Regions from separate parts of the Homo sapiens genome. Here regions 2, 3, 4 and 5 are each linked to region 1. The links are contacts of gene promoters, found by promoter capture Hi-C in blood cells and fetal thymus (Javierre and others, 2016). All regions are on one chromosome and are shown on one strand. Each heading gives the region's core, a stretch centred on a gene start or on the middle of the fragment in contact. The rest is flanking DNA. Distances are from core to core; before and after follow the strand shown. Region 1 holds the start of SPATA13-AS1 (SPATA13 antisense RNA 1). Region 2 has its middle 97 kb from the start of SPATA13. Region 3 has its middle 130 kb from the start of C1QTNF9B. Region 4 overlaps PARP4 (poly(ADP-ribose) polymerase family member 4). Region 5 has its middle 110 kb from the start of C1QTNF9B.

Region 1 (2,700 bases), core at 80-2,579:
AGCTGTCCGAGCTTAGGTGATATGTCCACCACCTGGTGGTACTGGAACAGGAAGAAGGGTGGGGTGTCTGTCTCCAGGGACCCTTGCCTTCTATATGTGAAGACAGGCCAAGTAAGTATTTAACAGAGCAGACAGTACTATAAAGAAAAATAAAACAGGATAGAGAGCATTCATTTCCAAAGAGTGTTATTCTAATGACACTCTAATGAACAGGATGCACCTGTTCCATGAACCCTCTCTCTCTTCCCTAGAAGGAGACACCCAGATCCTCATCAGTGGCAGCAGACACCTCCAAGTCTAGGACCTCTTAGGATAACTAGTCCTCCAGTTCCATGCAGTGCCTCTTCAGCGTTGATTAACTAGAGGCAGATTTAAGCAACACATCCCTACCAGAATGGCAAGGCAGGGAAAGGAAGGAAATAGAGAATTTGGGATGCTGTGGAGAATAAAACGTCATGCAAAGTTTACATTTCAGCATTTGAACAGATTCCATAAGTCAATATGTAGGATGCACCAAGGCACCAGTGACGGCCCTGCAGAAGATGACTTTGGGTAATGTGAGGAGTAGGAGCAGGTGGGGGAGATAGCCTCCTCTCCAAGGAGGTGACGCTGGGGACAGGTGAGTAGGAGGCAGTGAGGCAGAGATCCGAGGGAGGAGAAGTCCTAGCCGAAGGAGCACCAGAAGCCCAAAGACAGGCAGGAAACATGATGTGTCTGAGGTTCAGCAAGGAGGCCACAGTGACAGGAGCTCAGGGAGCAAGAGGCAGACGAGGATGTTGCAGGCTGGGAGGTGGGCTGAGGCTGGAAAGGGCTCTGCAGGTCATGAGGAGGCTGAGCTTGTTCTAAGTGTGGTGTGAAGCCATTGGCAGCAGGAGCATATTATGTTCCGGTTTATGCTTAGAGAGGGAGGGCAGTTTGTGGGGGGAAAGGAAGAGGAATGGAGATTGATTTGAAGGCGATTGCATTAGTCCATTTGAGAAATATGGTAGCAGTGACCACAAAAGCCATCCCCATTTTCCGTGGGTGCTCATTTTCCCAGTGGTACGAAGAGGCAAAAATGGCCAGCCTTGGTTCTGATTCACTGTGGCCAGGACTGTGAACTCTGGAGGAAGTACTTCTCCCTTGGGCACTAAATTCAGTTTCAACAGAGCAGAGTTCCTAGGTGGGAAGAAAACATTTTGCAAGTATATTATTAAGTAATCCTAAGAAGCCGCTTCTATGTTTACCCTTGGTTTCCGGCCCTGCATCTTCTGCTGTGGGCCAGCCTCTCCAAATTAGTCACTGCTTCAGAGCTTGCGTCCCATCCAGGGCAGTATGGCAACTTCTGGGTGTGTCTCCCAGCTGCCTCTGTAACTTCATTTTTATTTGGTTGTTATTGGGTGTGATGGGGTCATGTGCTTCCTTCTCTGTGACGTTCTGGGCCTGGATGGCGTGTGAGATGCTGCGACAGGATAGGGGCCTTCTAGAGGATCCACAGAGTGCAGGAAAACAAATCCAAGCCCAGCATAAGTGGCCCTTCCAGTAGGGACAAATCACCACCCCCTCTATTATGAAAAGGCCCCACTGCAATCAGCTTTCCGCAAGGGGCTGTCTGGTTCCTGCGGGGAACCGTATCATCAGCTTTGTTGAGGGGAAGGCCCAGACTTCCTGTGGTTTAGCCCAGGCTTGGCATCCATTTTTGCCACCATGGCCTTTTTCTTGCTTGCTTCTTTTTTTTTTTCCTTTTTATGAACCCACTGAGCAAGTATCAAGATGACTAGGAAGGAAGACTGGCATCTAGCTGCACATTGGGACAGCATGTCCACATGATGATTGATTAGCCTCTCTTGCAATAAGGATTCATGTAGGATGGACATCATCTCATGCTCTGCGGGTATTCTGAGGTAGCCAGTTATACTCCTTCCCCAAACCCATCCTCAGCCCATCTTGTTCTTTCCACATTCCTCCAGGCCATTCAGCCAGGCCATTAGCTCCTAACCAGGAGTGCGCACGAGCTAAATCCTTGCCTTGCCAAAGCCATCTCTCCTACTCAGAAAGGCTTGGGAAGAGTATTGCTTACATTTGCCGCCGGGAGTTTCCCTGTCCTGAGGACACAGTCACCAGGCTGATGGTAGGAGTTCTCTTTGAGAAGCTAGGAAGAAGACTTGTAGTAGGATGCCTACCCTGAGGCTCCCTGGCTCTGCTCCATCAAGAGGCCTGAGTCTGGGAGTTGAGTGAGGGCCCTCCCTTGTCTTCTCTGTCATGGTGGCTCAGGTCGGGCTCTGCTTGCCAGCCCTGGAGAGTTCCTCCTACACAATGTTGTGGTACCTTTGTGGAATCACTCATCTGTTTTGTTCCTGGGGACCCCGAGATCAGTTAACAGCACAACCAGAGATTTCACAGGTCAAACCATTCAGATGACCAAGCTGGCCCTGCTGTGTGGTATAGTAACTATGCCCACCTTTTTCCCATGACAGATGTCCCACCCCCATGGAGGACCAGGTTTGCATTGCAGTGGAACCATCTCTCAGCAGCATCTCTGGCCTAGAGAGATTAGCAGTACATTAATTATAAAAGCTGCTGTCACATGGGAGATGCAGCCCAAGGGGTGGTGAGACTCACATGATAGACCATCTCTAGCATTTCCATCCCAGTCCTGGAACTCCTTCCTTTCTATGCACTGAGGGTTTTAGGTTTATATACCAACGAAGTGCTAGAATG
Region 2 (2,700 bases), core at 156-2,655, 190 kb before region 1:
TGTGCGATGGAAGCGTCACTGGATGGAGACATGACCCACCCATGGGGGTATCTTGAGGAACACACTCAGTTGCCTGTGTGAATTCTAACAGGTCTGTTTGCATCTCAGATGCTCTACTGTGACCTCTGGTACAGTGTGGCTGTTTACTAGTGATGCTATTCCGGGAAGAGCTCTAGGGCTTCTTAGCCCCATGTTAACTTCTCATGGTTCAAAGTGCTGTTGGCGGAGCACAATGCAAAATCCTGTGGATATGGGTGAGGCTGTCATCTTTGGAGGAAGGACTAAAGGGCTGGGGGCAGGAGGCCAGGGACTGACTGGGGGCTGATCAGGACGAAGAGAGCTGAGGGCACACAGTCAGGATGAAATTCTTCTCCAATGGCGCCAGGGTGCACGGTGCTGGGAGCCAAGGGGCTCTGCCTTCCCACCAGCCCTGCCGCTCCAGGGCTCTGTGAACCTGGGTCACCTCACCTCCATGGAGCCACACTTCTTATTTGCAAAACAGAGGGTGGGGATCCGGTGACGAAGGAGCCTCCATCCAGTTCTAATTTTCCGTTTTCTTATAGAAGTCGGGCTTCGGTGTGTCTGGAACTGTGTAAGGAAGACCCAGTGAAGTATCCTCATGACTGCACCTGAGCTGTACTGAATAAGGGGTTGTGTGTGTGTATGTGTGTTTGTGTGTGTGTATGTGCACCGTGTCTGCATGTGTCCACATGCATTTGTTATCTTCCATCCTTCATAGCCCTTCTTGAAGATTGAGAGAAGTATCGGGATTTCCAAACTTCAATTTGGAGTGGGTTTTGCCAGGAAATTACTTTGGAAACTGTTGCAAACTGCATGCTTGTGGATGGCATTCTGTGGTCATGATCCTGCCATCTGACAGTGCCAGGGCCTCCAAGTTCGCACAGCCAAAGTGCCCCTGGGGGTTTGTGGGGGAGACTCAGGACAAGGGACACACTTCCCAGCACCTCCTCAGAGGTTCCCTGCTCAGATGTACTCCCTGGGATTGGCCTCGGGGTCACCTGCCTGAGACCCAGCCCTGCCCTCTGTCCTCAGCCAGCCTGGACCAGGCTCCTTCTCCCAGTGCTCACCATGCACTGGCCCCAGGTCTGCCCCACGTGAGGGTGAGCTCCACAGCCAGAACCTGGTTTTATTCGCGTCTGCCTCCTCCTTGCCAAACCACCATGGGCACAAAGAGAGCACTCACTAGGGATTCATAGGAGGAGTGAAGGATATCTGATTTTTTAATTGACAAATAAAAATTGTATGTGTTTATCATGTACAGCAGGTTTTGAAATTTGTACACATTGTGGGATGGCTAAATCGAGCTACTTAACATACATATTCCTTCCTGTACTTATTGAGTTATCACAGTGCTTGATCTGTGTAAGCGCCTCTGGACTCTGACTGCCATCCTCTCCCCTGGCCCACATCCCTCGGTGGCCTTTCCTCCCAAACATGCCTGCCAGATTCTCCAGAACCCTCCCTGCAGGAAACCAAACTCCCCCACATCATCACTAAATGTTCCTCCATGTCCTTGCTGAACTGAACCCTGGCTGCCATCCAATTACACAGCTTCCCTGAGCCCACTCAAGTGGGGGCGGCTCCTTCTCCCACATCCTCTTCAGCTCAGGGTCAGGAGGAGGGGGCAGCCTTCTCGTTGCTGATGTTTCACCCTTTATAAAACAAAATCAAAGAAAACAAAACAGAAACCTGCTCTCTACGGCACATGTCATCCAGCTTTCTTCTCTTAGTCGCTGTCCTGAATTTGTGTCGTTTCCTGCCTCACTCACAGGGATGAGGGCACTCCACTCACCATCCCAGCATTATTCCAGGAGACCCCAGAGATGACTTCCTTAATGACCTGAGGTCTTCGTTCCCTGCCTGCCTCCTTTCTGAGGGGCTGCTTCTTCACTGTGTGGCCTCACCGCCTCCAGTGGGTGCCTCTGGAGCAAACGTGCCCTGGATCTGCTCCATCTCTGCCATCTTCTTCAAGTCAGCCATTTCTCTCTTTGACCATGCCTGCCTACCCTTCCAGCACTTTCTCTTGTCAGTGTTCACTGCACCTGTTCTCCTGCCTCATCAGGCCACTCCAGATTATTTTCCCTGTGAATGGACCAGCCTGTCACAGATCACTTAATGCGTTCTAAAGCTCACAGTACGTCAGTGTAACAACAGACAACAAAGCTACTAGAATGGCTACAGTCTCCGTTTCGTCAAGCCCACATTTTATGAGTTAGTGACTAGACCACATTCAGATTACATTTAAATGAAGTACAATTAAATCAATGGGAGAGCAGTAACCTCACAGTGGAGAAACCTGGCTGCAATGGACTAAATGTTTTTGTCTCCCTGAAGTTTATATGTTGAAATCCTAACCCCTAGTAAGAGGCTGTTAGGAGGTGAGGCGCTTGGGAGGTCATTGGGTCATGAGGGTAGGGCCCTCATGAATGGGATTTGTGTTTTTATAAAAGAGCCCCCAGAGAACTCCCACGCCCTTATTGCCATGTGAGAACATAGCAAGAAGACAGACATCTACAAACCAGGAAGTAGGCCCTCACCAGACACTGAATCTTCTGGTACTTTGACCTTGGATTTGCCAGCTTGCAGAATTGTGAAAGACAAATTTCTGTTGGCTCTAAGCTACCCAGTCTATGGTACTTTGTTACAGCAGCCAAACTAAAATGCTGCTGGGTGCCTTCT
Region 3 (2,700 bases), core at 19-2,518, 230 kb before region 1:
ATTAGTTCTTAGTTCATTAATGTTCAGTTCTTCTTTTCTAGTATAAGCAAATAAGCCTCTTTTCTGGCTGTGTGACCTTGGTCAGGTAACTTAACTTCTCTGTGCCTTAGTTTCATATACTCGAAATTGGGTAACACCAGTATCATAGCATAGTTGTGAAAACCGAGGAAATTAGTATATGCACGGATCTTAGAAGAACACGTGGTGTAGATTAAACCCTTCAGGAGTGCCCTTCCTGCCTGCTTGTTCCTCTTCCACCCCTTTATGCTCTTTACTCTTCCTCAGCTCTGCTCCAGCATCTGCTTAAACATCATTAGCCATGTAACACCAGAAAAACTGTGATGAAATTGTTTTTGTTATAATTCTGTTTTAGTAGTTTTTAATTTCTATTATATTTTTCTTTGATTCATAAATTTAGATGTTTTTATAATTTTTAATTTCCAAACATATAGCCATAAGCAAACTCTTCTCTAACATGGAGTCAGGACTGTTAAAATTTATGGGCTAATACACTTAATCTTTTTTAAATCCACAAGTTACCCTATTATTATTATCTTCTACTTAGGCTTGTTCAGATACACACACATACTTACCATTTTCTTTGCTCATCATTCCTTTTTGCATTTGAGCTAATTTATTTTCTTCCATAGTACACTCTTCCAAAAGTCTTTTAGAGAGGATATCTTGTTGGTATACTGCTCCCAACTTATCTGAATGTATCAGTTCATGTGCAGGTGTCTATATTTTGCCATCATTCTTGAAACAGTTTTGCTGGGTACATAATTCTGGGTTGGTTGTTAGTTTCTCCTAGTACTTTACAGATAATATTCTCCTGACTCCCTTGGTTGCAGTTGTGATGTCAGCTGGTGTCTAATTAAATACAAGGTCCTATCTTTTCTCTTTGGTTGCTTTGAAATCTTTTTTTGACTTTGGCATTCTTCAGTTTTTTAGTGATGTGTCTAGGAGAGATCTGGCATTATATTCTTTATGCTTCCTAATTCTGAACATTGATAACTACTATCAGTTTTGGAAAATTCTAATTGCCTCTCTTTTATTCACCTTACTATCTTTGTATAGAATTCCAATTGAATGTTTGTCCGTTCTTACGCTTCAAGCTTTTACTCACATCTTTCTGTCACTTTCTTTACTCAACTGTGTGTAATCTGCTATTTAACTGTTGCTTTGAGTTTTTCATTTCAATAATTATATTTCTCTATTTTAAAGATTTGTGTTTTTTATGTTTCTGGTCATTTCTAAAAATATCCTTGCTCATGGCTTCAATTTCCCCTGTTTTTTTAAACATGAAAATGTTTTATAATCTACATCTAATAATTTTACTTCCTAAAGTCCTGGTGAGCCTGGGCCAGTATTTTTTTCTTTCTGCTCTCTTTTGTTTCCTCGTATGTGGTTTTTTTGTTGTTATAAGCTTATATTTATTCAAAACCTTTATTTTTAATTATCGAATTTATTTTTAATAGTTTTTGTTAGTAACGGGGTCTCACTGTGTTGTCCAAGCTGAACTTAAACTCCTGGGCTCAAGTGATCCTGTCACCTAGCCTCCCAAGTAGCTGGAACTTACAGGCATGTGCCAACACAGCCGGCCTCTGAAAATCTTTTCGTGGGAATACTTTAAAGTCTGGGGCAAAGATGCATCTTTTACAGAAATAATTTTTGTTTGCTTTTACCAGATGCGTCAGGACAGTACAAATTTGGATCTATTTAATATAAACATTTTAGCTTACATTTTTTTAGACAAATAGTGTGAAATCAAGACCCAAATCCATGTTAGGGCTGGCTGATAGCCACAGATTCTCAGGAGTAGGGTTGCCATAAAAAATACAGAATGTTCAGTTAAATTTGAATTTCAATTAAACAATAAAAAAATTTTGTATGTTATTTACATAAAATTCAAATAAACTGGGGACCCTGTATTTTTAAATATATATTAACATATAGACTGTTCTGTAGAGCATTTTTGGAATCACAGCAAATTTTTTAAATTTAGATTTTGATATTTTAATTTCAGGGGTACAAGTGCAGCTTTGTTAAATACACACACTTGTGTCATGGGGGTTTGTTGTACAGATTATTTCATCACCCAGGTATTAAAGCCTGGTACCCATTAGTTAATTTTTTGAGTCCTCTCCCTCCTCCCACCCTCCACCCTCCGATAGGCCCCAGTGTGTGTTGTTCCCCTCTAGGTGTCTATATGTTCTCATCATTTAGCTCTCACTTATAAGTGAGAACATGCGGTATTTGGTTATCTCTTCCTAAGTTAGTTTGCTAAGGATAATGGCCTCCAGCTCCATCCATGTTCATGCAAAGGACATGATCTAATTCTTTTTTACGGCTGCATAGTATTCCATGGGAATTCATAGCAAAATTGAGTGGAAAGTAGAGTTCTCATATATGCCCTACCTTCTCCTAACACACACACACACACACGCACACACACACACACACACACACATACATACATACATACATATACCCTCCCCTATCATCCACATCCCCCACAGCGTGGTGCATTTGTTAGAGCTGATGAACCAACACTGACACATCATTGTCACCCAGAGTCCCTAGTTGACATTAGGGTTCACACTTGGTGTTGTACATTCACTGGTGTTAGACATAGGTGTAATGGCATGTGTTCACCATTATAGTATCAGATGGAAGAGTTTCACTGCTCTATAAACTCCT
Region 4 (2,700 bases), core at 110-2,609, 250 kb after region 1:
CAGGTCCCGAGCCCTGCCCCGCGGGGAGGCAGCTAAGGCTCCACGAGAAATCTAGCACAGCGCTGGTGGGCCGGCACTGCTGGGGTACCCGGCACACCCTCCGCTGCTGCTGGCCCGGACGCTAAGCCCCTCACTGTCCGGGGCCGGCGGGGCCAGCGGGCTGCTCAGAGTGCGGGGACCGCCCAGCCCACGCCCAACCGGAACTTGCGCTGGCCCGCAAGCGCCGCGCACAGCCCCGGTTCCGTCCTGCGCCTGCAAGCTGAAGGAGCCGGCTCCGGCCTCGCCAGCTCAGAAAGGGGCTCCCACAGTGCAGCGGCGGGCTGAAGGGCTCCTCAAGCGTAGCCAGAGTGGGCGCCGAGAGCCAGCGAGGGCTGCAAGGGCTGCCAGCACGCTGTCACCTTTCAGTACCTTTGCCCTGTGTGTGTTGGATGGTGGTACCCATTCCCTGGGCTCTCAATTGAGGACACAGTGCCACTGCCTCCCTGACACCTCACCTCTGGGTCTCCTTGGCACCACAGAGGTGCGACGTCCCCAGCCTAGGCCTCCCTCTCCCCCTTGGCTGGAGACAACCACTGGGTGCTATTCTTGACTCCCTGCACCCCCATCTCCTTCTGCCAGCTGTATCTCTTCCATCACAGCCCCTGATATAGCCCCAATGTATAGAACTTGTCCCTCCTGCTGCCACCCTGGCCCATGCCCTCGCATCCTGACTGGCTCCCACTCCTGTTGCGCCTGTGTTCAATCTCTTCTCCACACTGCAGCTTCAGGAAACTTGTTGTTTTTAAATTACATTTCAAATAAAATACAAATTGCTTATCATGGTTCAAGGCCAACAGCTATCTCATTCCCTCCTGGCCACACTGGCTTTTTCTAAAGGAGGAAGAAACCCACAGCTTGGTCCTCCAAGTCTTGACACATGCTGTTATATATTATAGTTCTTATCTCTGGGACCCCCAGCCCTTCCTCACCCCATGCTGTATCCCCCATCCAGGACACAATGAATGAACACATTAGGGATTCATATTTTTTAATCTTTCTTTTGAGGTCCGGTTAAACTGAAGTCTCTTGATGTAATTCTGCCTTTCCATAACATTAGCATGGAAAAGTTTCATTTGTTGACTGCCTCTCACATTCAATTAGCATCTGTGCATAGATAGGAGGGATGAAATGAGGGGTACCATAAAAGAGATTACACCACACTATTTAGGTTAATCTATGCTAGTCGTAATCTCTGACAATTAAAAACAACACACAAAAAAAAACACTAAAAGCCTTTAATGACTCTTTAATAATTTCCAGGACAGCCTCTATGTGATAATTGCACCCCCACTTATGCTGACCAAGGTTGGCTGACATGGAGTGGCTGCTCAAGTCCACCTTCAGATGGGTCCTGGATGTGTTAAATCCTCTGACCTGTTTAAAACGTGTTTCCTGGAAAAGTGACTCATGGTCACTGTTGAAAATTTGAAAAATACAGAATTGTATAACAGAAAAAAAAAGAACAAAACAAAAAAATCTCAAAACCTAGGGCTATGTTAGCATCTTGTTTTGCATTTTTCTTCTGGGCTTTTTTCTAGGTCTATTATAACACTTTGTTTTTTGAGACAGTCTCGCTTTTGTCACTTAGGCGGAAGTGCAGTGGTGAGACCTCGGCTCACGGCACCCTCCGCCTCCCGGGTTCAAACGATTCTCCTGCATCAGCCTCCCGAGTAGCTGGGATTATAGGTGCCTGCCACCATGCCTGGCTACTTTTTGTATTTTTAGTAGAGACGGGGTTTCACCATGTTGGCCAGGCTGGTCTCGAACTCCCAACCTTAAGTGATCTGCACACCTTGGCCTCCCTAAGTGCTGGGATTACAGGCATGAGTCACCGCACCCAGCCACAGACTGTATTTTTTATCAAAATTGACATCACACTACCTATCCCGCTGTTATCAGTCAGCATCTTTAGCATTTTGTCATTAAATATTATTGGAAAACATTTTTAATAGAGACTATCAGATATGGACCATAAATGAATTATTGTTGGAAAATTAAATCATTTCTGATTTTTGGTATCATAAAAAGCTATGATGAACATCCTTATGTGCAAATCCTTGTTTCCATCTCCAACAATCATCTTAGAAAATAATACTCAACTAGAACTACTGAATCAAAGTTTGAACAATTTTTTTGTGTTAAAAGTTAATCACTAAGAAGAAAAAATAAAAAGCACCTAAAATGATGGAAATGCTCAAAACTAGACTGCAGTGATGGTGCACAACTTGGTAAATTATTAAAAATTATTGAATTAGGCCAGGCAATGTGGCTCATGCCTGTAACCCTAGCACTTTGGGAGACCAAGTGGAGCAAATCGCTTGAGCCCAGGAGTTTGAGAGCAGCCTGGCCAACATGGCGAAACTTCATCTCTACAAAAAATACAAAACTTAGCTGGGCAAGGTGGTACATGCCTATGGTCCCAGCTACTCAGGAGACTTAGGTGGGAGGATCACTTGAGCCTGGGAGGTCAAGGCTGCAGTGAGCTGTGATCATGCCACTGCACTCCAGCCTGGGTGACAAGAGACCCTATCTCAAAAAAAAAAAAAGAGAGAAAAATTACTAAATTGTACAATTAAAATGAATGAATTTAATGTATGTAAATTGTACCCCAATACATTTTTTAAATAGTATTTTTTGGATACATAATAGTTACATACATAT
Region 5 (2,700 bases), core at 8-2,507, 240 kb before region 1:
GGAGGCAGGTTTGCCTAACCCCAGCTTGACTTTTCCCTTGGGCTTAGTGATTTCGGGGTCCCAAGATTTATTTTCCTTTCACAGTCCCTTGATCCCTCGTGCCTGGAAGCTCCTCCACCTGTGGCCTGAGTTGGATCTGCTTCTCCTCCCAGCAGTCTACTTCCTTCCTCCATCCTTTCTTCCTCCCATGAATCTTCCTCCCCACTCCTCCCTCCCTCCTGCTCCTCCATGGGGCAATTCACCCAAGGCCTGGATGGTGTCTTGGCAAGCAAGGCAGGGCCAGTGCCTTGTTGGTGGATCTGAGGGCCCTGGTGCATGGGACGTGCTGGTTGGCAAACCATTCCTAGAATCCACCCTGAGCACCTGGTTCTAGGAATGGTTTGCCATTCCAGCATGTCAAATGGTTGCTAAATGCTTTGCCCCACTGGTGACTGAGGTCCCAGGGGATGGAGACCCCTCGGATTGTCCTAGAGGAATGTTCCCTCTCTGCCTTACTGCTTTCTTCTGTCTTTCCCTCTGCACCCATACTGCTGGGATATGCCTGCACTCTGCAGTTTGCTGACTCCTCTGCAACCTTGGCTTTGGTTTCTCCCCAGGTCCTGACCACCTGGCCGTGGGCCCCTCCCTGTAGAGCCACACTGCAGGAAAACAAGGCTGCTTCAGCCCAGCGAGACCCATCTTGCCTGGGTGCCACCTCCCAGCCTGGATCAGCACTCGGAGCTCCCACCTGCCTCCCAGGGGAGTGGGCATCCACCCTGAGCACCTGGTTCTAGGAATTTCCCTTCCTTTCATTTCTGAGGCAGTGCCGGCCGGCTTGGCCATCTCATGCTGTCTCACGTTCCGCAGCTGGTCTGGGCCCAAGTGCTGAGGACTCAGGGATCCCTGAGACCGTTCTGGGCAGGTCTGGCTTGCTGCCCTCCCCTGGAGAATGTGGCGACCCAGCAGCAGGTGGTTGAGAGTGTCCCTGCTGGTGAGGACAGAACCTGGAATTCTGTTGCCACGCTCCCTGTCCTGGCTGGCTGATGCCCTCCAGCTGTGGGCTGGCCATGCTCCTGATGGGCCTGATATGGATACAGACTAGCATGTCCCATGCACCAGGACCCTCAGATCCACCAACAAGGCACTGGCCCTGTCTTGCTTTCTTCTCTTGGTGTGGCTGAAAACACCAGGCTCTAACTCTACTAGTTAAGCAGGAGCCTGGGAGTCTCCAACATCCTTCCTGGCAGGGGGCATGCAGAGAACATAGTCTTCAGCTCTGGCCAAGCAGCCATCTGTCCAGCCTGCTGGTGCTAGCCTGGGTAGATGGCCTGGAACTTAGGGGCAGAGCCCACCTGCACAGGCAAACTTGGGGGACCATGAGGGATGATCCCACAGACCCAGAATGCTCAGCCTTCTTCTTTAAACTTGCAGCGGAGGCTTCAATGTGCACCTCCGCCTCCCCCTACGGATTGTAAAACTCACAGGCACAGGGACCGGGGCTTGCCCACCACCCTAAACAAAACTTGCTGATGACTTACTGAGAAGATGAAGGCAGTGGTTTCTTGCAGCCATTGTGTCTGACCATGGGCCCCAGCAAGGATGTGAGGGACCTGTGTCACTGGCAAACACACTGTCAAGAAGCCAGGTGTGTAACCAGCCTATGATGAAAGCCTGCAGAGGTATCAGTCTCTTTCCTGGGGAATCTTTTCACCTGCGTCACAGCCAGACCCTCCATCACTGGTAGAAGGGTCTAGGGACTCCTCCAGAAGAGATAACTACTTTCTACTTAAGGACCAAAATACTTTTAGCCTCTGAGGCATAGGGCAGCTCACAGATGAAACTCTCTTCTATCTTGGTCAAGGTTGCCCCCAGGCAGGGGGACATCACCAGCAGATGCTCGTGGTTGGTCAGTATCTTGAGAAGTACACACCACCCAGGTACACCATTAGGGTGTCCTCTAGTACAACAGGACAGAGACAAAGGCTGTGCCTACTGTCTCCAAGGAGTGGGAGAGGACAAGCATATGGCAATTTTGATAGGCTTCTCACTTGGCCCTTCGAGTTGGCCATGTTGATCAAGTTCATGGTCTTCCCCTCTCAGGGGCTCCCCTGGTTGATCTTTTTCTGCCCTGACAAGCTCCTGGAGTCTGTTCCCTCCCCGTCTTCCGCAGCCAACCCCCAAGTGTGTGGTGGGCGGGGTGCAGGCTGCAAGCCTGTGATTACAGCACCTGCCTTGCTGGGAATGGCACGGGCATAGGAGCAGTCATGCCCACTGCAACAGTCAGTGTTGCCACAGCAATGCCCAGAACACCACCCTGAGCCCCGTGGCTGCAGACAGTGGCATCTGTTTGGTTTATGCGTCTGCAGGTCGGGGCTTTCACGGGCTTGGGCTGGGCTCCCTCCTGTGGCTGGCACTCCCCAGCTGTGGCTGGGGACAGGGCACACCTAGGCCACAACTCTCCCTCATCCAGCAGGCCAGCCCGACACCTTCTCACCGTGACGGCAGAGTGGGGAGCAAGCAAAGCCACACTGTGTGAGCTTTCCAAGGGCCCATTGTCACCCCTTTGCTAATACCCCACTGGCTGCAGCCCATGTGGCTGAGCCCAGAGCCAGGGTGGGGGGTACATGGCAACCTGTGCAGACATGGAAAAACCTCAGCCTCCTCTTCTCCCACTGAAACGGGCTTAGAGCTCTTCCTGTCTCCCCACGCGTGCTGCACTGT

The links. The method cuts DNA at HindIII sites, captures the fragments that hold promoters and counts their contacts. A CHiCAGO score of 5 or more calls a contact.
Region 2: a fragment that was not itself captured here is called in contact with the fragment with the promoter of SPATA13-AS1 in region 1 in 1 of 17 cell types (M2 macrophages); the score reaches 6.8 in M2 macrophages.
Region 3: a fragment that was not itself captured here is called in contact with the fragment with the promoter of SPATA13-AS1 in region 1 in 5 of 17 cell types (endothelial precursors, M2 macrophages, M0 macrophages and 2 more); the score reaches 7.2 in endothelial precursors.
Region 4: a fragment that was not itself captured here is called in contact with the fragment with the promoter of SPATA13-AS1 in region 1 in 1 of 17 cell types (naive CD8 T cells); the score reaches 5.8 in naive CD8 T cells.
Region 5: a contact is called between a fragment that was not itself captured here and the fragment with the promoter of SPATA13-AS1 in region 1, in 5 of 17 cell types (endothelial precursors, fetal thymus, megakaryocytes and 2 more). The highest score is 7.9, in endothelial precursors.

What each region holds. Positions count from the first base shown.
Region 1 is chr13:24,253,110-24,255,809 of GRCh38, forward strand. It overlaps SPATA13-AS1 (SPATA13 antisense RNA 1), which reads right to left and starts at 1,330. Exons shown (of 3, transcript NR_046531.1): 1 at 1,227-1,330; 2 at 1-90. All of the region lies in intron 4 of SPATA13 (spermatogenesis associated 13), which reads left to right. The HindIII fragment of the contact is 5,552 bases long and covers 1-2,700 here.
Region 2 is chr13:24,062,055-24,064,754 of GRCh38, forward strand. It overlaps a transcript of SPATA13 not described here. Among named protein-coding and RNA genes, the nearest start is that of SPATA13, 97 kb to the right of the region's middle. The HindIII fragment of the contact is 2,970 bases long and covers 1-2,700 here.
Region 3 is chr13:24,027,621-24,030,320 of GRCh38, forward strand. It overlaps a transcript of SPATA13 not described here. Among named protein-coding and RNA genes, the nearest start is that of C1QTNF9B, 130 kb to the left of the region's middle. The HindIII fragment of the contact is 311 bases long and covers 1,114-1,424 here.
Region 4 is chr13:24,506,932-24,509,631 of GRCh38, forward strand. All of the region lies in intron 1 of PARP4 (poly(ADP-ribose) polymerase family member 4), which reads right to left. The region is part of intron 1 of LOC105370117 (a long non-coding RNA gene); the gene reads left to right. Among named protein-coding and RNA genes, the nearest start is that of PARP4, 4.5 kb to the right of the region's middle. The HindIII fragment of the contact is 3,829 bases long and covers 1-2,700 here.
Region 5 is chr13:24,010,509-24,013,208 of GRCh38, forward strand. It overlaps a transcript of SPATA13 not described here. Among named protein-coding and RNA genes, the nearest start is that of C1QTNF9B, 110 kb to the left of the region's middle. The HindIII fragment of the contact is 3,516 bases long and covers 1-2,700 here.